Linked DNA regions of Homo sapiens: regions 2, 3 and 4 are each linked to region 1. Evidence: promoter capture Hi-C in human tissues and cell types (Jung and others, 2019). All regions are on one chromosome and are shown on one strand. Each heading gives the region's core, a stretch centred on a gene start or on the middle of the fragment in contact. The rest is flanking DNA. Distances are from core to core; before and after follow the strand shown. Region 1 holds the start of TMEM244 (transmembrane protein 244). Region 2 overlaps LOC105377999 (a long non-coding RNA gene). Region 3 has its middle 50 kb from the start of TMEM244. Region 4 overlaps LOC105377999 (a long non-coding RNA gene).

Evidence for each region. The method cuts DNA at HindIII sites, captures the fragments that hold promoters and counts their contacts. A contact is called where the count stands out against the background at its distance.
Region 2: a contact is called between a fragment that was not itself captured here and the fragment with the promoter of TMEM244 in region 1, in 1 of the 25 tissues and cell types used here (pancreas).
Region 3: a fragment that was not itself captured here is called in contact with the fragment with the promoter of TMEM244 in region 1 in 2 of the 25 tissues and cell types used here (ovary and stomach).
Region 4: a fragment that was not itself captured here is called in contact with the fragment with the promoter of TMEM244 in region 1 in 2 of the 25 tissues and cell types used here (hippocampus and psoas muscle).

The regions. Positions count from the first base shown.
Region 1 is chr6:129,858,078-129,863,910 of GRCh38, forward strand. TMEM244 (transmembrane protein 244) reads right to left here and starts at 3,238. Exons shown (of 5, transcript NM_001010876.2): 1 at 3,079-3,238. The coding sequence starts at 3,111. LOC105377999 (a long non-coding RNA gene) reads left to right here. Exons shown (of 8, transcript XR_942986.3): 2 at 1,253-1,348. RefSeq lists a silencer at 5,547-5,833. The HindIII fragment of the contact is 10,214 bases long and covers 588-5,833 here.
Region 2 is chr6:129,894,667-129,900,567 of GRCh38, forward strand. The region is part of intron 4 of LOC105377999 (a long non-coding RNA gene); the gene reads left to right. Among named protein-coding and RNA genes, the nearest start is that of TMEM244, 36 kb to the left of the region's middle. The HindIII fragment of the contact is 5,137 bases long and covers 573-5,709 here.
Region 3 is chr6:129,808,604-129,814,413 of GRCh38, forward strand. No RefSeq gene overlaps it. Among named protein-coding and RNA genes, the nearest start is that of TMEM244, 50 kb to the right of the region's middle. The HindIII fragment of the contact is 5,119 bases long and covers 1-4,152 here.
Region 4 is chr6:129,915,162-129,920,695 of GRCh38, forward strand. All of the region lies in intron 4 of LOC105377999 (a long non-coding RNA gene), which reads left to right. Among named protein-coding and RNA genes, the nearest start is that of TMEM244, 57 kb to the left of the region's middle. The HindIII fragment of the contact is 4,560 bases long and covers 1-3,576 here.

The DNA.
Region 1 (5,833 bases), core at 1,988-4,487:
TCACTTGGTCATGATGTTTTATTTTTATGACGAGTTCTTGGGTTCTGTTTGCTAATATGTTTAGATTTTTCTGTATTCATAAGTGAGATTGATCTATAGTTTATTTTTTGTACTATATTTATATGGTTTAGGTGACAACATATTTCTTGTTTCATAAAACTTTCTTGTGGCTTTTCTTGTTTTTCTATACTCAAATGATTTAAGTAGCATTGGGAGTATATGATCTTTGAAGACTTAGGAGAATTCTTTTGTGAAATCTAGGCCTAGTCCTTCTGTAATAGCCTTCTCCATTTAGTCTATGGAAACTGGAAGCCCTTGTGTGATTTTGCAAAGCAGAATGTTCCCATTGCCTACAGTAGCTTCACTCTTCTTTACAGAGCAAGTAGCTATATTCTCTAGGTCTGGCTCATATATCATCTTCTCACTCCACCCCTCACTGCAGGACAGAATCAATCTCTATCTTATTTTAATTGCTTCCATAATATTATATTTGTCTTATAGATCTCATCAAATTTGTATTGTAGCATACCTACTTTTGGAGGTATACATTTCTTTCTCCAGTCTCTAAAAGACAGACACTGATTTGACCACATTTAATTCTTCAGCCCCCAAAATATTGGTCAGGCTTTCATAGGTATTCAATAAATATATTTTGAATAATAATCATGGAAGGAAGGAAAGAAATAATGGAAGACAAGACCACTATAGTAGGAACCATAGTCTTTTTTTTTTTTGAAACAGAGTCTTGCTCTGTCACCCAGGCTGGAGTACAGTGACACAATCTCAGCTCACTGTAACCTCTGCCTCCCGGCTTCAAGGAATTCTCTTGCCTCAGCCTCCCTGAGTAGCTGGGACTACAGGTGTGCACCACCACACCCAGCTAATTTTTGTATTTTTAGTAGAGATGGGGTTTCACCATGTTTACCAGGCTGGTATCGAACTCCTGACCTAAAGTGATCGTCCGGTTTGGCCTCCTAAAGTGCTGGGATTACAGGCATGAGCCACCACGCCTGGCCGGAACCATAGTCTATTAATAAAGTATGTGGACTCTAAGTCAGATCCACTGGAGTTTCTCCCCCAGTTCATCACTGACAAGTGTGTGACATTGGCTGGTTACTTTCTGAGTTTTGTTCTACTCATCTACAGGTAAAGTTTCATAAGGGATTTGTATTCTGAACATGTATACAATTCTTAACATTAAGTACTGTATGTTCCCAATAGATAATACTTTCTCTCTTACTTCTCCCCATAGGAAAGACTGCATTGTAGTTCTTTGGACAATTCCTGGAGAAATCATGAGATATGACTCTCTCACTTGTAGAATCACAGCAAAGGCTCCGTCCTACTGGTAAGTAGTTCCCTCTGAAATTGCCTGAATGAATGAAATTCTCCAGTTCAGGTGAACAACTCTGAGGATATGCAGGAATGTGTTGTGCTTCTGAGATTTTTACAACATTTGTTTTACAGAGGAAAGTTTACATTAGTTTAACATAGTTAGGAAACATGCCGTCTACTGGAGTAGAATACATTGTATTCTGAACAGTTTAGCAGTCCTCATACTTGGGCTTTCTTCCCAGTTCTTGTGCTATTTTCCCAGACAGCAAATTAATTAAATGGCCTTTGGCCATGACTCTTTCCCTTGAGTCAGCTTTTCTGTCATTTAAAGTGTACAGATAGGGGGGATTTAATTAGCCCAATGCCTGGCACATTGCATGCACTCAATAAATGTTTGTTGAGTATTCGAGTTATCTCTAGATGAAGGTCACTTTTGCTATTACTATTAATTTATAAGCATATCAGTAATTCTTGTGCTGATAATATTGACAGTGAACAAGCACTTAAAAGAAAAGTTAACTCATAACTTATAGGGATGTATCATGAGAATTCAGATAGTCAACAACCTATCTATTTTGAACATATTCACTATTCTTCTAATGTTCTAAGGCTCTAATTCTACACTTGAAGCTCAGATGATTCTAAGATAGTGAGGAACTGCAGCAACTATCTGGATATTTTCTCTGCAATGCGTGTGTGTGTGTGTGTGTGTGTGTGTGTGTGTGTGTGTGTGTGTCTGTCTGTCTGGTCTGTGTAAGCCCCGACTAAATATAGAGCCCCCATTCTTTGTGTAAGCTACTTAAGAGAAAGGATTTTATCTTCTAATTTTTATCTCTTCAGCAGAAGTTATTATTGCTAGTTCAATCCCAAATCTATACATAAATTACGAAGTTTAATAACCCCTTAAAAATAAGCTTTTTAAAAATATTTTTCCTGAAATAATGTTTTACTGACCTTGAAAATTTTTCTTAGCTGTTGTCATGCTCAACATTTCTCACTGATGACATATGTGGTGATGATGGTAGTGTAAAGAAAAAGCTTGAGGAAATACACACGGTGCTGATATTTTACTAAAATGAATGTAGCACTCACTCATAATTGTAATTTAATTTTTAAGTAAAAATCTGATTTTCCACTATCATTCCCTTAAGTCTGGCTCATTATAGGCCTAAAGCCTGTATGAATTTACACAGCTGCTTTGAGGCTTTGCATATTTCCTTGTTTTCGATTGTTTGATTTTTTTTTAAAGGGGTATTTTTGCACTGAAGTAAAACACAACTATTAACACTAGCCTCGGGGGAAAAAGAAACTAACAAACCTACAGCTTGAAATGTTTCAACACTTTGCATTTAAAATTTTGCGCACCCTTTAGAAGTTACAAAAATAAAAGCCACTCCCTGCAAAAAAAAAAAAGAAAAAAAGATTGAGAACAAACTGTCATGATTTCAGAAAACGATAGCAGACGTGCAGGTGCTAATACCAGAGAGCTTACCTCCGAATAAAATGGTGCCTTCTAAACAGCGACTATTTACATGTTTTAGAATCCTTTCTTGGGCATGGGTGCCTTTATATTGCCCTATTACCACAAGATGCAAGCCGTGCAGCAGAATGTTTTCTGTATGGTACCCAGCCAAAAGTGAAACAAGTTGCCCACTGACAGAGAGGCCATTTATAGAACATATTCATTTACACCAGTGCTAGGCAGCAACTGAAAGGCAATGCAAAGAAGTAATTTCTCTTTACCTTGCTTGGAGCAACTCTGACCTGGAGAGCCATGTACACATCCTACGTCAAGGAGGTGATGAAAGCCCCACTCCTTATAGCGATGACATCTGGAAGAAGACACAATTGTCACCGTGAGCTTTTCAATTACTCCTGGAGACTAAGTGTGAGACGCAGTAGTGCAGGATGATTGGATTACGCAAAACGAGACAGATGCCATCTGTGAGCCACGCGTAAGCTGCTAAGTGCCAAAATGAACATCCTTATTAAACGATGGAGTTCTCATACCATTTGTAGTTTGGTCAGATTTGAAAGATGAGTTGATTGTTTTTAGATAGTGCGGCAAATAGGCAGGGACTTGGAATCCTCTCTGGCTGTATGAGTAATTACTGTCTCATACTTAAATTAGAAACATGGGTTTTCAGTTAGGTCTTGAGATTGTTTCCAAAGGATGCTGCTGCATTCATGTTGAAGCGTGGCCTGTCCTCTCTGTTTCACTCACAAGGGCCACAGAGTTCTGAGAAAGAAATCATCAGTTCCTTTCACATCATGGCAAAGAAATGTAAAACTTATGACTTTTTGTTAGGAAACAAAAGGGTTCCCATACTCTAAAATAATGGCCACAATATTGTGGGTAGAATGTTTTCAAGAACTGCCAGGAGGCAGTATTGGAGCTCTGTCTCTCTGCGTCCTGAGGCTCCAGAACCAATCCTTCATTTACAATTCATTCTCCCATCTTTTTACTGGCACCAACTCTATTATTATTTTTATTTTAATTTTTAATTGCTGTGATTACATAGTAATATAGTAATATACCCCATAGAGTTTATGGGGTACATGATATATTTTGATATAGGCATCTAATATGTAATGATCACATCAAGGTAAGTGGGATTTCCATCACCTCAAGCATTTATTCTTTGTGTTACAAGCAATCCAATTATACCCTTTTAGTTATTTTTAAATGTACAATTAAATTATTATTGACTATAGTCACTCTGTTGTGCTATCAAATACTAGATCTTATACATTCTCTCTCTTTTTTGTATGCATTAACCATCCCCACACTCCCCCTTTTCTCCCACTACCCTTCCCAGCTTCTGGTAACCATTCTTTTACTTTCCATCTCAATGAGTTCAATTGTTTCCATTTTTAGTTCCCACAAATAAGTAGGAACATATGAAGTTTGTCTTTCTGTGCCTGGTTTATTTCACTTAACATAAGGACCTCCAGTTCCATCCATATTGTTGCAAATGACAGGATTTCATTCTTTCCTTTGGCTGAATTCTATTCTGTACCTGTACCACATTTCTTTATCCACTTGTCTGTTGATGGACATTTAGGTTGTTTCTTAATCTTGGATATTGTGAAACATGCTGCAATATACATGGGCATGCAGATACCTCTCCGATAGACTGATTTCCATTCTTTGGGGTATATGCTCAGCAGTGGGATTGCTGGATCATATGGCAGTCCTATTTTTCTCTTTTGAGGAACCTCCAAACTGTTCTCCATAGTGGCTGTACTAATTTACATTCCCACCAGCAGTGTATGAGGGTGTCCTTTTCTTCACATCCTCACCAGCATTTGTTATTGCCTGTTTTGGGATAAAAGCCATTTTAACTGGGGTGAAGTCATATCTCTTTGTAGTTTTGATTTGCCTTTCTCTGATGATCGATGATGTTGAGCACTTCTCACATACCAGTTTGCCATTTGTATGTCTTGTTCTGAGAAATGTCTATTCAGATATTTTGATCATTTTTAAATCATATTATTAGATTTTTTCCTCTACAGTTGTTTGAGCTCCTTATATATTCTGGTTGTTAGCCCCTTGTCAGATGGGTAGTGTTTGAGTATTTTTTTTCCCATTCTGCGGGTTGGTGTCTTCACTTTGTTGATTGATTGCTTTGCTGTGGCACCAACTTTAGATGGGAACTTAGCTGTGCCCTGTAATCCTTTTTCCATTACAGCATCTTGTTAACCGCTATAAAGAGCACATTCTGCAATATCTACCTGCATACCAAAAGCAAAGGTGAAAAGAGTGCCTTCAGCAAGTCCAGGCCTTGATAGTTTTCATCTGAATATGTTATTGAATTTGACATTCATAATGCATATTAATAACACTGTCAATGCTCTTTTATTAATATACCTTAGATAAATCTTTTAATGTGTGGTTGCCCTGTTCTCTGCTTATATTGTGAGTTCTTGCAGAAAAAGACTTTTCTGCCTGCTGGTAACATTGTAACAGCTCCCAGTGTTGTCTTCAGATTTCAGCACACGGTGGACCCTCAGTAAATGCTGATTGTCCAAATCCCATGCCCTGCCCTATTTGTAACAGTGATGACCCAGAATTTCTCCTTAAAGAGGGCAGGCGGAGGCCAGGTGTGGTGGCTCATGCCTGTAATCCTCGCACTTTGGGAGTCAGAGGCAGACGGATCACAAGGTCAGGATTTCGAGACCAGCCTGGCCAACATAGTGAAACCCCGTCTTTACTAAAAATACAAAAAATTAGCTGGGCATGGTGGCGGGCACCTGTAATCCCAGCTACTCAGGAGGCTTAGGCAGGAGAATCGTTTAAACCAGAAGGCAGAGGTTGCAGCGAGCCGAGATCGCGCCATTGCACTCCAGCCCTGGCAACAATGAGGGAATCCGTCTCAAAAAAAAAGGGGGGCAAGTGGAACTTCCTGGGAGTCATAGCACAGCATAAAGCAGAGGATTTGTGCCTGACTCACTCTACTCCCAACACAGGCTGCTTTGTGCACAACTCAGATGCCTT
Region 2 (5,901 bases), core at 1,891-4,390, 36 kb after region 1:
TGAGGTTAGGAGCTTGAGACCAGCCTCGGCAACGGTGAAACCTCGTCTCTACTACAAATAAAAAAATAAAAAAATTAGCCGGGTGTGGTGGCGTACATTTGTAATCCCAGCTACTCAGAAGGCTAAGGCAGGAGAATTGCTTCAACTTGGGAAGCGGAGGTTGCAGTGAGCCGATATTGTGCCACTGCACTCCAACCTGGGTGACAGAGTAAGACCCCATCTCAAATAAATAAATGCATAAATAAATAAATAGTGATTATGTCACAAGGGCCCTGCAGTTATGAGTGGATTAACACCACTATTACAGGAGTAGGTTCCTGATAAAATAAGTTCAGTCCCTTCTCCCCCACTCTCCAACTTTCTCTCATGCACATGCCCTCTTTCCCTTCTGCGTTCCATCATAGGATGATGCAGCAAGACAATTCTCACCAGATGTGGGCCCCTTGACCGTGAACTTCCTAGTTCCAAGACTTTCAGAAATAAATCTCTGTGCTGTAGAGATTACCCAATCTCAAGTATTCTGTTATAGCAGAACAAAAGGGACAAAAAAAGACAGCGTAACTGTGACAGACTATTATTGCTCCTGAATAATCATTTCTCCTTCTTCTAAGGGGATGATACTTCTTTGTTCTATTGACCTTGTTCTTGGCCATGAGTGTGCTCTGGCCAGTGGTATGTGAGTAAACATGGTGTATACTATATCTAGCAAGCAGCTTCAAGATCTGCAGTGGGTTTCCACCATCTCTCTTGCTTTTACCCTCTTCCAAGGAAATGATGTGTCCCCTCAGAAGAGGGGGCTACTCCTTCAGCCTGGGGCCTGGAATGAGAAGACCCACAGAGAAGAGCTAAGGAAAGTGAGGTGCAGCCACCAAAATAATATATGTGAGAAATAAGTATTTATTGTTAGAAGCTATTGGAATTTTGACGTTGTTTCTTATTACAGCATTACCTAGTGAAAACTGACTATGGCCCTTAGCTTATTAACCTGTCAAATGAAGCTAATAATATTATTCATCTCACAGGACTTGGATTGAATGAGTTAATACACAGGAAGAATGTAGAATAGTACATAACATTATGGAGGCTAGATATTATTATTAAAATAGTCTAAATGCATATGCCATAAAAGATTACATATATTGAATGACTAATAGAGACCAGGAATGTGTTACTCATGATTTTATTCAATTATACAGTATCTTTCTAAAGTATTGACATTCCTGTTTCATAGAACAGAAAACAGAGACTCAGAAAGTCTCTTAGTTCAGTGAGACTTTCAGTTCCTAGTTCAGTGTGGCTAACTTCCAGTTTTTTTGTGTGTATGTTTTTTACTCTGAATCAGTCATGAACTAATGGTTTTAGAAAATATGAATAACATTGAGTTATTAAAAAATAAATAAAATGAACAAAGTTTAAAAGACATATAAGATATAATTCCAATTTTTTATTATTAGATCCTGTAGACATAAAATTATATTTTAATTAATGCCATTGGAACAAATGTTAAAAATGAAAGAATTACAAAAATTATCCATATTATTCAGTGAAAATATGTATGTAGACAACTAATACAGAAAAATCACTGTTTTGCCAATAACTTTTTGTCATTTCACAATTGTAACTAAACAAAAATATGAATGAAAAGCAACTTCCCAAGTTAAACACTATTTACATACATTAAACTACCCACATACAGTTTTTAATGTGACAAGTAAGCTTGCTTCTTACTTGTTAACATATCTAATCTACTTTAATTTCTTTTTTTTTCCCTTTCTTTCTTTTTTTTTTTTTTTTTTTGAGACTGGGTCTCACTCTGTCTCCCAGACTGGAGTGCAATGATGCGATCATGGCTCACAGAAGCTTTGACCTCCTGGGCTCAGTGATCCTCCCACCTCAGACCCCAAGTAGTTGGGACTACAGACATGTACCACCACACCCCACTAATATTTTATTTTTTGTAGAGATGAGGGTCTTGGGGGTCTCACTATGTTGCCCAGGTTGGTCTCAAACTCCTGGGCTGAAGCTATTCTCTGGCCTCTTATGGCTGGGACCACAGGCGTGTGCCACCATGTCTGGCTTTTTTTTTTTTTTTTTCGGAGAGACAGAGATCTCACTTTGTTGCCTCGGCTGGTCTTGAACTCCTGGCCTCAGATGATGCGCCATCCTCGACTTCACAAAGTGCTGGAATTGCAGGCGTGAGCCACGATGCCAGACCTACTTTAATTTTAACAACTGATAGTAGAGAAACAAGTCTCACAAAGCTATGTTAATGGGAATGAAACAAAAGATTTTAAGGCAGTTTCAGCAATCTCAGGATATTCATTTTAAATTTTTATCCAAAATGAAACAAATGATGCTGTATATTCAGAATTTCTATTTTTATCAGAAGCCAAATTCAATAATTTACTCTGTAAAGTTACAGTTAAGTTCAAATTATTTCTTAATGAAGGAAATAAATTCTAGATTGAGCACTTTTGGGTTATCATTGGCAAACTAACTTTGAGACATTGTGTTGTAAAGGTTCTGCTGCAGACAATTAGTAGGCATCTTTGAGTCCATGTAGCGTGAGTACATGTAGAACTCATCATGTGATTTCAAGAACACCTAAACTGTTCTATATCTGCTGAGTAAGATGAGTTAACTGCTCCTCGTTGAATGTGTCAACAAGCAAGTGGTAGAAACAGATTTGTTTGCTGGTCTCCTCCGTTGTGTAAGGTTTTTCCTCTGTTGGAGGTTGTTACCCTGTAAGCAGATCACCTGAGATATGAATTATATTTGTTCTACTACCTATACTGTTTAGCAGGACCAGTGGCTAACCATACCCTGAAGCCAGCCTTAGAGAGGATAATTGTCTTAATAAAAACATACAGTTGACCCCTGAACAACTTGGGGGCAAGGAGCACTAATGCCCTGCAGTTGAAAACCCTCAGATAACATTTGACTCCCCCCAAAATTTAACTACGAATAGGCTATTCTTGACCAGAAGCCTTGGCAAAAACATAGTCTATTAACAGATATTTTGCATATCATATGTGTTATATGCAGTATTCTTAAAGCAAAGCGAGCTAGAGAAAAGGTTATTAGTTATTAAGAAAATCATAAGGAAGAGGAAATACATTTACTATTCATTAATTGGAAGTGGATCATCATAAAAGTCTTCATCTTTGTTATCTTCATGTTGAATAGGCTGAGAAGGAGAAGGAAAAGGAGGGGTTGGTCTTGCTCTCTCAGGACTGGCAGAGGCAGAAGAGGTGGAGGAGGTGAAAGGGGAGGCAGGAGAGGCAGGCGCACTTTATGTAACTTTTATTGAAAAAAATTCGCATATAAGTGGACCTGCATAGTAGTTTAAACCTGTGTTGTTCAAGGGTCACGTGCACACACACACACACACACACACACACACACACACAGTTATATATGCATACACATACATATGTTTATATATCACATATACATATATGTTGTGTATACTTATTGGTTAAAGTGTGTATTGTACCAAATATTGCTGTCTGCATTTCAAACTCAAATAATGACTTTTAGACCTCACTTCTTTGAATTGTAAGTACAGTTGCCATGCTGTATTGTAGGCACTTTGATGACAGAAATAAAATTTGAAATGTTTCTGGAAATCTGTATTCATCTATAATTGATTGACTGGTCAATTGGCTGGCTCGTTAGTTGCCTTGGTTACAGCATTCAAATATTTATTGGCTACCTGGTCTAAATAAGATCAAATTACAATTTAATTTCCAGTATGAGAAAAGAAAAGATGGTTTTTCCATAAAAAATTAGACAACCATGCAATTCTAGGGATCAGCCCGTAAGCACAGGCAGAGGAATTTGGATAGAACCAAAAGATATAAACCTTAGTTCCTTACTCACAGTAAGAAATAGGGCATTGTTTTCAGTGCCTCAGTTCTGGCCAGACATGGTGGGTGGCTCATGCCTATAATCCCAGCACTTTGGGAGGCCAAGGCTGGAGGATCACTTGAGCCTGGGAGTTCGAGATCAGCCTGGGCAACAAAGGGAGATGCGCCCACCCCATCTATACAAAATACTTTCTTAAAAACTAGCTGGATGTGTTGGTGTGCACCTGTGGAGCCAGCTACTCAGGAGGATAAGAGAGGATTGCTTCGGTCCGAGAGGTTGAGGCTGCAGTGAGCTCTGTTCACACCACTGCATTCTAGCCTGGGTGACAGACTAAGACTTGTCTAAAAGTAAAATAAAATAAGATAAATAATAAAAATAAAAATGGAGAATATGTCATATCCATATGTTTAAAACACCAGCATTTAAAAATAAAGCAATAACTTCAGTTTTTAAATTATATCCAGTCAAACATTTTGTTACCATAACAGTTTTATCTGTCTATAGAAATGCAAATATATAAACAAGCTTTTCCTTGACTCTTTCTACACATACTTCTAATCCATGCCTTCACGAGAATTTTACCTATATATTTATGATACATTTTTATGCTTAAAAGTCTTTTATTAGCCTATAACACTTTCAGTATAGTATTTGAAATTTAAAAATTTTGTGAACATGAGGCTCTAAGCATTAAAAAAATTCAGTCTGGATTGAGTTATCGTTTTTATTAGTGCACAACTGATCCAAACATTTATTAAAACTTTGATAAATATGTGTTGAATAAAATTTATTGGCAATGCATCTTTTAATGAAATAAATGGGGCTGTATCTATGTATGATCATTACTCATTACTAAAATTAAAAATGGCACTTCTGTTTTTCGTTTTTACAAATGTAGGCCCTGAGAAACACAGTTAACCTAAATAAGTAGACGGAACTGGATGGAGTTTGTTGTGGCTCTGTTATTCAATTCTTTGAACTCCTTTTGAGACATATAACAAAAATTCCATAGTGATTTATCATCGAAAATTAGTTTTTAATAATCTATTTGTTAAGAACTCTATTAGATCCTCACTGGATTTTGATGAAAATAATTGAAAAGGGAAACTCTCAACAAAAAAAATTTGCTAACCAATCATTTGCGTTATTCACTTTGTCAATACTGATACCAATACTTGGAACTGCTCCTTGCCCCACCGCCCTTTTATTGGTGCCTCAGAAGTTTTTTCAAACATTAAGAATATGATAAAGTAAAATTCAATTCAGGAAAGGTGAGTTGTTCACTTTTATAAAGTTTGAGAAGAGGGATTATAAATGGAAATGTGGAAATTAGGAAAGCACAGAAGACAATTTTAGTAGTTTTCGAGAGTATACATATGAAAGTTGAAGATCTGGAAGTTGATTTCCTTAAAATCATGGTCCTGTGTAGGCCTTGGAAAGGTTCCTGGTGCTCCCAGGTGTACATAAACCCCAATTTGAAGGTACTGCTCTATTGTCAGGAGAGTAATTCTTTTCTGGAGTGAAGGGGGTTTTGCTTTACAAGTTTATCACAATCTACTTCCCAGTCAATAGACCTAATAATATTATCTTACAAGTTACTCTTTTAAGACAGGTGGACAACTCTTCGTTTGTTATTGTGTGTGAAAAGAAAGCTCTTGGCTAAATTAAGTTATATAAATGATTATGTTGTTGCCAAAAGACAGAACCATCTTTAGTTCTAAAATTACCTTTCCTGGTACCCAGTTTAATCAGAGAAAATTCTTTTCTAGACTCTAGGGATTTTGAACTGTACAGGACCTGGTGAAAAGGTACTGAGAAGGAATTTTATGAAATCTCAGGCTTGGCAAAGTTTCCCTCTTCTGGGCAACCATAATTCTCTCTGCAGACTTTTATCTAACAAGAATACATTAAAATTATTTTCTTATTATCTGTCTTCTTCACCACACTATGAAGTCTTTCAGGTGAAAGGATCATGTCATACTCATTTTTGAACCCCCACTCCCCAAAACTCCTACACAATACTTGATATAT
Region 3 (5,810 bases), core at 343-2,842, 51 kb before region 1:
TCTATAAATTACTTTGGGCAGTATGGCCATTTTCATGATATTGATTCTTCCTATCCATGAGCATGGAATGTTCTTCCATTTGTTTGTGTCTTCTTTTATTTCATTGAGCGGTGGTCTGTAGTTCTCCTTGAAGAGGTCCTTCACATTCCTTGTAAGTTGGATTCCTAGGTATTTTATTCTCTTTGAAGCAATTGTGAATGGGAGTTCACTCATGATTTGGCTCTCTGTTTCTCTGTTATTGGTGTATAGGAATGCTTGTGATTTTTCCATGTTGATTTTATATGCTGAGACTTTGCTGAAATTGCTTATCAGGTAGGCTGAGACGATAGGGTTTTCTAAATATACAATCATGTCATCTGCAAACAGGTACAATTTGACTTCCTCTTTTCCTAACTAAATACTCTTTATTTCTTTCTCCTGACTGATTGCCCTGGCCAGAACTTCCAACACTATGTTGAATAGGAGTGGTGAGAGAGAGCATCCTTGTCTTGTGCCGGTTTTCAAAGGTACTGCTTTCAGTTTTTGCCCATTCAGTAAGATATTGGCTGTGGGTTTGTCATAAATAGCTCTTATTATTTTGAGACATGCTCCATCAATACCTAGTTTATTGAGAGTTTTTAGCATGAAGGGCTGTTGAATTTTGTTGAAGGCCTTTTCTGCATCTATTGAGATAATCATGTGGTTTTTTTCGTTGGTTCTGTTTATGTGTTGGATTATGTTTATTGATTTGAGTACGTTGAACCAGGCTTGCATCCCAGGGATGAAGCCAACTTGATTGTGGTGGATAAGCTTTTTGACGTGCTGCTGTATTCGGTTTATCAGTATTTTATTGAGGATTTTCGCATTGATGTTCATCAGTGATATTGGTCTAAAATTCTCTTTTTTTGTTGTGTCTCTGCCAAGCTTTGGTATCAGGATGATGCTGGCTTCATAGAATGAGTTAGGAAGAGTTCCCTCTTTTTCTATTGATTGGAATAGTTTCAGAGGGAATGGTACCAGCTCCTCTTTGTACCTCTGGTAGAATTCGACTGTGAATCCATCTGGTCCTGGACTTTTTTTTGGGTGGTAGGCTATTAATTATTGCCTCAATTTCAGAACCTGTTATTGGTCTATTCAGAGATTCAACTTCTTCCTGGTTTAGTCTTGGGAGGCTGTATGTGTCCAGGAATTTATCCATTTCTTCGAGATTTTCTAGTTTATTTGCCTAGAGGTGTTCATAGTATTCTCTGATGGTAGTTTGTATTTCTGTGGGATCGGTGGTGATATTCCCTTTATCATTTTTTATTGCATGTATTTGATTCTTCTCTCTTTTCTTCTTTATTAGTCTTGCTAGCGGTCTGTCTATTTTGTTGATCTTCTCAAAAAACCAGCTCCTGGATTCACTGATTTTTTTAAAGGGTTTTTCGTGTCTCTATCTCCGTCAGTTCTGCTCTGATCTTAGTTATTTCTTGCCTCCTGCTAGCTTTTGAATGTATTTGCTCTTGCTTCTCTAGTTCTTTTAATTGTGATGTTAGGGTGTCAATTTTAGATCTTTCCTGCTTTCTCTTGTGGGCATTTGGTGCTATAAATTTCCCTCTACACACTGCTTTAAATGTGTCGCAGAGATTCTGATACATTGTGTCTTTGTTCTCATTAGTTTCAAAGAACATCTTTATTTCTGCCTTCATTTCGTTATGTACCCAGTAGTCATTCAGGAGCAGGTTGTTCAGTTTCCATGTAGTTGTGAGGTTTTGAGTGAGTTTCTTAATCCTGAGTTCTAATTTGATTGCACTGTGGTCTGAGAGACAGTTTGTTGTGATTTCTATTCTTTTACATTTGCTGAGGAGTGTTTTACTACCAATTATGTGGTCAATTTTAGAATAAGTATAATGTGATGCTGAGAAGAATGTATATTCTGTTGATTTGGGGTGTAGAATTCTGTAGATGTCTATTAGGTCTGCCTGGTGCAGAGCTGAGTTCAAATCCTGGATATCCTTGTTAACCTTCTGTCTCATTGATCTAATATTGACAGTGGGGTGTTAAATTCTCCTGTTATTATTGTGTGGGAGAGTAAGTCTCTTTGTACGTCTCTAAGAACTTGCTTTATGAATCTGGGTTCTCCTGTATTGGGCACATATATATTTAGGATAGTTAGCTCTTCTTGTTGAATTGATCCCTTTACCATTCATTACGTAATGTCCTTCTTTGTCTCTTTTGATCTTTGTTGGTTTAAAGTCTGTTTTATCAGAGACTAGGATTGCAACCCCTGCTTTTTTTTTGCTTTCTATTTGCTTGGTAGATCTTCCTCCATCCCTTTATTTTGAGCCTATGTGCGTCTCTACACATGAGATTGGTCTCCTGAATACAGCACACTGATGGGTCTTGCCTTTCTCCAATTTGCCACTCTGTGTCTTTTAATTGGGGTATTTAGCCCATTTACATTTAAGGTTAATATTATTATGTGTGAATTTGATCATGTCAGTATGATACTAGCTGGTTATTTTGCCCGTTAATTGATGCAGTTTCTTCATAGCATCAATGGTCTTTACAATTTGGCATGTTTTTGCAGGGGCTGGTACCAGTTTTTCCTTTCCATGTTTGGTGCCTCCTTCAGCAGCTCTTGTAAGGCAGGCCTCATGGTGACAAAATCTCTCAGCATTTTCTTGTCGGTAAAAGATATTATTTCTCTTTCACTTATGAAGCTTAGTTTGGGCTGGATATGAAATTGTGGGTTGAAAATTCTTTTCTGTAAGAATGTTGAATACTGGCCCCCACTCTCTTCTGGCTTGTAGGGTTTCTGCCAAGAGATCCACTGTTAACCTGATGGATTAACCTGACCTTTCTCTCTGGCTGCCCTTAACATTTTTTCCTTCATTTCAACCTTGGTGAATCTGACAATTATGTGTCTTGGGGTTGCTCTTCTCAAGGAGTATCTTTGTGGTGTTCTCTGTATTTCCTGAATTTGCACGTTGGCCTGCCTTGCTAGGTTGGGGAAGTTCTCCTGGATAATATCCTGAAGATTGTTTTCTAACTTGGTTCCATTCTCCCCATCACTTTCAGGTACACCCATCAAACGTAGATTTGGTCTTTTCACATCGTTGCATATTTCTTGGAGGCTTTGTTCATTTCTTTTTACTCTTTTTTCTCTAATCTTGTCTTCTCACTTTAGACATAAACCAAATCTTCAGCCACCATTTTAAGCTGCACCTAAAGCCAGCAGACTTACTTTTCAAGCACAGAAGCCAATAAATAGCTTTATTCTCAAAATCAGTTTCTGCCATTTTCAACCAAAGGCTTTAAAACTAACACAATAAAATAGACATGCTGTATATATCTGATATATCTCATTAATAGTAAGGAAGCAGGCAAATAATCATGTACTGAGTTTTTGTGAGAATATAAATGTAGTACAGTGTAGCCATTCATTTCTTCATTCAATACACACTTACTAAGCATCTACAATGCCACTGGGTGACAGTTTTTCATGCAGAAAAATATATGTGAACTACCATTAATATTTTTATTAATGTAAAATAAATGTGCCATTAGTGTTTTAAGATTTTTAGAGCTTTCTATGAATGATAATTTATTCATTCATTCTCTCAATTCAACAAAAATATTTTCAGCACTTACCATGTGCTAGTCTGATATTTCTCAGAGATGCTTCCCCTTGTGATTAACAGAACTCATTTGTAGAAAAGCATGTTAATGACTATGATAATGAACGCACATTACCAGTCCAAATTACAAAACCAGAACTTTGTACCACTTGCCCAATCTTGTTTACTATATTAATAGAACCATGAAAAGAAAAATAAACATTAAGTTTTTATATATTTATCAAATTAGATTTAGTTTTGATTTTGTTAAGTGGTAAGAAAAATAGCAGATTCTTTTAACATCATTATATTCCTTTGATATACAAATATATCCTGTAAAAGTTGAAGTATATTTAAGCCTGACTTCATAAGATCAAGTATATTGCTCAACAGAGCATTTGTCCTCACAGCACAAAAGAACTATGCAATACTGACTGAGCTTCAGAAAATGAATCTCACCCATGTTTACTTTATATAGTTTGATATATAATCCATCTTATTTGTACCACAACATTTTGAAGCTACATTTAGAACTGAAATTTCTAAAGATGAGATTCTTCGGTGAGTTTATAACTTTAGTTAACTCTTCAAATTATAATAGATACCTACAAATTGTCATTTTGTTACACTAGTTTGATCAGTCATTAAGTTCACAAGCAGCATTAGAAATGTTCTTTAAAATAGGCTGCCTCAATCCAGGACTTTGGGAGGCTGAGGCAGGATGATCACTTGAGCCCAGGAGTTTGAGACCAGCCTAGGCAATGTAATGAGACTCTGTCTTTATAAAAGATGTTAAAAAATTAGCCAGGAAATGTGGAATGCCTGTAGTCCCAGCTACTAGGGAAGCTAAGGTGGGAAAATCGCTTGAGCCCAGGAGATTGAGGCTGCAGTGAGCCATAATCGCACCACTGCACTACAGCCTGAGTGACAGCAAGACCCTGTCAAAAAATAAAATATAGTAAAATAAAGTGAAAAACAGGCTGCCTGATTCTTCGATTTGTACATTCCACTGCCATAAATGGATATTTCTATTTGAAAATCCTACTGTCAGCTCAAAAGCAGCATGCCCAGTGCTTAATCTTTCTCTGTTCCATTCCCAGCCATTCTCACCTTGCACCCCAGGCCATTCGTATCATGAATTTGATGCACATCACTGTATCAGTCGTGCCATACATCTATGTACCCATATATAATATATAGTAATATTTATGTACATGTTAAAATATCCATACAGAGATAAACATGTGTTTTGATTTTTTTCACCAACATATTTTTGAGATATATCATGTTCACTTACAACTCCTTATTAATTTCTTTTAAGGGCTATATAGTACTTCACCTATTGATTCGTTTTTAAAATCTACCTCATATCAATGGACATTTATGTTGCTCTAATGTATCTCTATTAGAAACAATGCTGTAATGTACATTTTTGTACTAGTGTCCTTGTGCATGTGTTTCTCTGGGGTATTGACCTATAAGTTGACTTGCTGGTTATGGGATACCACAGAGGCGCAGTTACTAGATACTGCTTTCCAAAGACAGGCTAATTTAGCAGTGTTTGAACATTCTCTTTTCTTCACGTTCTTGACATTTAGTAGTTTCATCTGCATTTTCAACTTGAAATTCCTTAATCTCAAGCTACCTTTGACAAGTCCCCAAAATATCTGCAAGATAATTTGATGTGCCCCTAGATGCCTCAGCAGTGTTTGGCTAATTTCTACTAAAACTCTTTGCTACAAGACACCTTCATGACACACAGTCAATTTTAATGAACTAAAGATTCTAATTCCATATTCAACTGCTAAACTTCCTCTCAGAATCCCATCACCAAATTTTGGCAAATACTTTCAGTCCAATATCATAAATCTAGTCACTACAGAACTTTAGTTAGGCTTGTACAACCTTTTGTGTAAGCCCCCAAAGGTCATTCTCCATGGAGTACAATTAACAGAACAATGAAGAGGAATACGTATTGGCCAGGATGTGGGAACACAATCACTTTTACGTATTTCTGATGGGAGTACAAATTGATTGCTATATAAGCTTTGGTGTACCGTTGACCACATCTAGTAAAACAAAAAATACACGTTGATTGTATTGAGTTTTTATTTCAGCCAAATTCATTTGGTAAAAAGCAGTATTTTATAATTATGGAAAATTAACTTTTCTTCACAGGCATATTGGCATTTTGTATTTCTTTTTTAATATAATTTCTAGTTTGTATCCTTT
Region 4 (5,534 bases), core at 47-2,546, 55 kb after region 1:
TCCAGGCTGGAGCGCAGTGCAAGCGAGCCTCCTGCCTCAGCCTCCCAAGTAGCTGGGATTACAGGTGCCCACCACCATACCTGACTAATTTTTGTATTTTTAGTAGAGACAGGGTTTCACCATGTTAGCCAGGCTGGTCTTGAATTCCTGGCCTCAAGTGATCCACCCACCTCAGCCTCCCAAAGTGCTGGGATTACAGGCTTGAGCCACTGCACCCGGCCAGGAAAGCCTGATTTTTGAGGAGCAAAATGTGCCCATGTAATGACATGTAAAGTGAAGATTTGAAAATGATCCTATCAAGTTAATGAATTATATCTGTTTTATTCAACTGGGCCCTCTATTCTAATCAAATTACTATTTGACTCTGCTGCATACACAAGCTTTTTAAAAAAAAATTTGACAATTCTCTGCACTCAGCTTAATCATGTCACTTTCCTGTGATCTTTTGTGTTATTTATTAAAACAAATGATTATCCATATCAAAGTGTAGTTTTTCCATTTTCCTCTCAGTCATGACATAGATATATTTGGAATAGGGACGTGCTGCTGTCCTATCACTCTTCCTAAAAGGCAGAGTTGGGAAAGTGAGAAAAGCCCACAGTGTTACTTAGGATATTCCTAGATAGCTTATTGCCATAAAGCAGCAAACTACTAGGTGATTATCAAGCGAAATGATGAGTACATTGATTTAATATTTTTCTTAACCTTTTTGTTGCAACAAGAGAGCTCATCGAAGAAGATACTTTAATGTTCCCATTCAAAATGATTAAGCCAGAAAGGATTTAGGGCACTCTAGGCCTGTTATTTAACTAGAACAATGAAAGTAAATATATGTCTTCGAAACATTTATTTAGTTTTTGTTTTAATAAGTAATATTCAAATGATTTATTTAAAACTTTTTAAAAAACTTGAACAAAGTAAACACTGAGAAGGCTCCGTCCTACCTTGCACTATCTATCTCATTCCTACTCCCCCTATGAATAACTGCTTGTATTAATTGTTCATATTGCTTCCTCCACTTCTTGTATAAAATGTAGATTATCATCACTTTACTCCACACCTTGAGTTTTATCTTTAACAATATTTCCCCGAGATTTTTCCTTATCAGGACATCTTATGCTTCCTCATTGTTTTTTCACAGCTACCTAATATTCCATTGTGTGCATGTACCATAATTTAATTAACCACTCTGCTGATAGACACTTGGGTTGTTTCTAATCTTCTGCCTTCACAAACAATGCCATCATGAATAACCTTAGACATAAATCATTTTGATGTGTGCAGATGTGTCAGTAAGATGCATTCCCAGAAGTGAGACTGCTGGGTCAAAGGGTAAATACATTTGTAACTATTAAAAATATTGCCAAAATGTCCTTTATGGGGTTGTGCCATTGGGTTCTGCCACTAGCAATGTATGAGAGTACCTATTACCCCATAGCCTCAGAAACAGAATTTTGTTCAACTTATTCACTGTTGCCAATCTGATAAGTAAAAAACTGGTGTTGGTTAGTGAATCTGGCTTTAATTCACAGAGAGATAACATGCAATTTCGAGTAATGTGAAAGACTTTTTGTGGTTGTGATTTTTGTTTTTCATACGATCTGTGTCTGCCACACACTATCCTGAAGTCCTGTGTCACAAAATCACTGCTATAAGTGGAACTGTGTCAATGAGGGCTTCCAGGACTTATATATCATGCCTTTTGACATAAGGCAATAGGTATGGTGTCAGGAGCCCTTGTATTCAAGCCAAGAGAAAAATGAAGCATCAAGGAGTCAAGTCCTAGACCTTCCTGTAACTGATTATGTCCTTTGAGCCAGTCATTGAATCACTAAAGGTTCAATATCCTTATGCGGTGAAAGTATCGGGAAGCAGAATAATGAAAAATGAGATAAAGTTTTAACGACTCTTGCTGAGGAAGGAGAAGGATGGGAGAAAACACCAATTTAAGGCAGCAAAATTGTGCCTTACTGATACCATCAATTGGAAATATTGGACTTGTGATGATCTGGGTAGAATAAAATAGTTATACTCTGGAGTCTATTTTGTTCCAACATGTTGAGATGTTCATATGGACCCGACATGGTGAAATGTTCAGATGGACCTTTGGGATACTAAATTCTGGTTACAATGGGGCCAAGCCAATACTGAATTTAAAAGGGACTGGTGTTTGTAAATACTTTGACTCAAAATCTATGATTGGATACAGATTAAATTTATTATGTTTTAGAGATCGTGCATATCTTATGACCATAATTTTAATTAAATTTAAATTTCAAGCTAGTCTGCTTAAAATTGTACATTAGATTTCGGGCCATTGATATTTATTAAATAACTATCCCCTGGATGCTAAATATTTAACTAATAATATGTAATAGACACATTTTCGAAACATTTAGCTGAATGTATAGTACAATCCTGTTTCATCTGAAACCTTGTGTGTTTACTGGTAGATATTTGTATAGAATAATATTGGAGAGACTATACATTAAAAGTGGATAGTCTTTCAAACAATTCCATCTAAGTTGTAGAATTTCAAGTAACTTTAATTTTTTGCTTGCTCATATGAATTTCTATAATTTTCCAGAAAGAATATTTATTATCTTTGACAAATAATTTTGTAAAATCACGGAAAAATATTTTGAGGTTAAAGATGGGACTGGAGGGAGACTTTCATTGCCAAAAGTTCAGTTCAAAGAATTCTCGTATCTAGTCAATGCTGTTCAACCAACCAGAAGCATTTTAAAAGAGGTAGGGTAACAATTTGCTAGGTGCTTTTTTCTATATTAGTGATCTCTCTCAACACTCTCTGTAGTGTCATTTCTTCCTTTTTTACATTTTTTATTTGAAGACAAAATAGAAGAAATCATAGAGCTTGAAGGTGAAAAGCCTTTCAAAATATCTATTTGGTATGTAAACATAATTTTTCAACCACTTTGTTTTATGCCTCTCATGATTTCCAACAGATATAATAGGTCTTAGTTCCATTTTCTATTGTATTATAATGGTTATTTTCACAGGACGCTGTTCACAGTATCTTCTTAACTGGTCTCTGGGCAATGCATCTGACAAAAAGCCAGATTAGTATGTTCCTAAAACACCACTTTCATTATGTAACTTTCCTGCTCAAAAATCTCCAATAGTTTCTCTCATTTATTGTCATGATTTTCGAGCTTTTAGACAGTAGAACATTTTCTTGCCCTAAAGAATACTTATGTGGAATCCCTATGAATAAAACAGATGACAGTAGTGTTTTATTAGAACTTATGATAAAGTCCATCAATAAAAATCATGAGGCTATTTTGATACACACAGAAAGACAATCGAGTGTTATGGTTGAAACTGAAAGTCTTCAGCATTCAAATATATTTCCATATTTTATTCTGGTTACATAGAACTGAAAAACATCTCCATTTATAAAAAATAAGCAGATGATGTTAATAAAAGGTTTTTTAATAGCTAAGCTTTAAATCACAATGAATCAAAAATTACATAAAAAGTTTACCCCAATGTTTGCAACAAAAGTTAATGTGTTGGTAGAAGTCACTGTGTTAAAAAGTGATAGATTACACATTTGAGTGTGGGTGCTGATTTGCTTCTCTGTTTGTATCCTTGTTTCTTTTAACTATAGAACTTAATATTCACGAATATATTTTTAAAATATTTAAGATCAGGTTGATTTTAAAAAGCTTTTTAGTTCATGGAAAGATTTTCAGCAAATGAGAGTCAGTTGGTTCTTTGCAGCTTTAAACTAGACGTTCTTTTTTTCTCAATCCTATGTACACTGTCAAACATCTTTTTCTATAAAAAGACCAGTTTTGTCTGCCGAGGTGGAAAACATTCTTCCTTGTTGATCTCTGCAAGTGTAGGGAATTGTTTTTTTGGTATTCACACTCTTCTCACTTTGATATTGTGCGGATCACTGAGGCCTTGAACCTATGGAAATACATCTTTCGCCAAAAGTTCCAAGACCATCCATTTACTGAGGACTTGGCCTTCGAGTCCTCAAACTCTGAAAATTATCTCCTAAATAAACATCAGGATCTAAGCCGTACAAGCCTCTGAGATTGCTCCTTTGGCCTTACATGTGTGTTTTCATTGTGTTATTTTTATATTTTTCCTGATGATTATTGTCCGTTTCATTTTTTCATGATTCACTTTTAGTTTCTCAGAATCTATTCTTCTAATGATTTAACCCATGCACTCAAATAAAAAGCACAGTCTCATACCATTTTCACTTTTTGAATTATCTTTACTTTTTGTCATAATTGTACTCTGCCTTTTATTACTTAACACTTTTAAACATTCTTTTTTTATACTTATCACTCTCGATAGGGTAAGTACTGTTTGAAAACACTTTAAAACTAAGCACACATTCAGCAAACACAGTCACTTCTCAAGTACAGTAGCCAAGAATAAAATGAACAGGCCAGGTGTGGTGGCTAGTGCCTGTAATCTAGCGCTTTGGGAGGACGAGGAGGGAGGATCACTCCAGGCCAGGAGTTCAAGACCAGCCTGGGCAACACAGGGAGACCGTGGCAAAAAATATTTAAAAACTAGCCAGGCATGGTGGCATGTGCCTGAAGTCCCAGCTACTTGGGAGGGTGAGGTGGAAAGACACTTAAGCCCCAGTATTTCAAGGCTGCAGTGAGCTATGATCATGCCACTGCACTCCAGCCTGGGTGTCAGTGCCAGACCCTGTCTCTAAATAAATAAATAAATAAATAAATAAATAAATAAATAAATGGCACAATTGTGGATACCATCTGTGGGTGGCAGGCAGAAGTGACTCTCTACTGCCCCAGAGGCTAGCTCTGTTGTTAGTCTATGGCAGTGTGTAAGTTGCAGGTTTGTAAGCTGATTTTTCTAAGGAGTTTCTATAGTTAAGTGTACTTTTAAAAGACAATTTAAATTTTTTAAGAAAAGCAATTAAAATCAAGCATTAGCAGAACATAACTACGTGTTTAACAAGGGTTACCAAATTTATCTTATAAAGGACCAGATAGTAAATATTTTATTCTGTACAAGTCACACAGTCTCCAGTGAGATTGCTTAACTCTGTGACTGTAACACAAATACAGCCATAGACAATATGTAAGCAAATAGGCATGACTATGTTCCAACAAAACTTTATTTACAAAAACAGGGAGTGGGCTAGATTTGGCCCACAGGCTATAGTCTGCTGACCCCGGGATAGAGTATAAACAATTCTTGTTTGTCTTACCCAGTGTACATAAATAAATAAATAATCATTATGGTAGATTAAATATAGCTGCAAATTCTTTCCTACTTCTTCCACTGAGAGGTGGAGTCTAAGTTCCCTTTCCCTGAATCAGAGTTGTCCTTTGTGACTTCCTTGACCAGCAGAATGCTGTGTAAATATCATTCTGGGACTTCTGAGGCTAGATAAGAAGTCTCATAGCTTCCTCTCGGGCCTCTTGGAATGCTTGCTTTAGAGAAGCCTCCACCATCTAACAAGGCCAACAACCCTCAGGCTGTCGTGTAGTTAAGAAGTACAAGTCACGTGGCAAGGC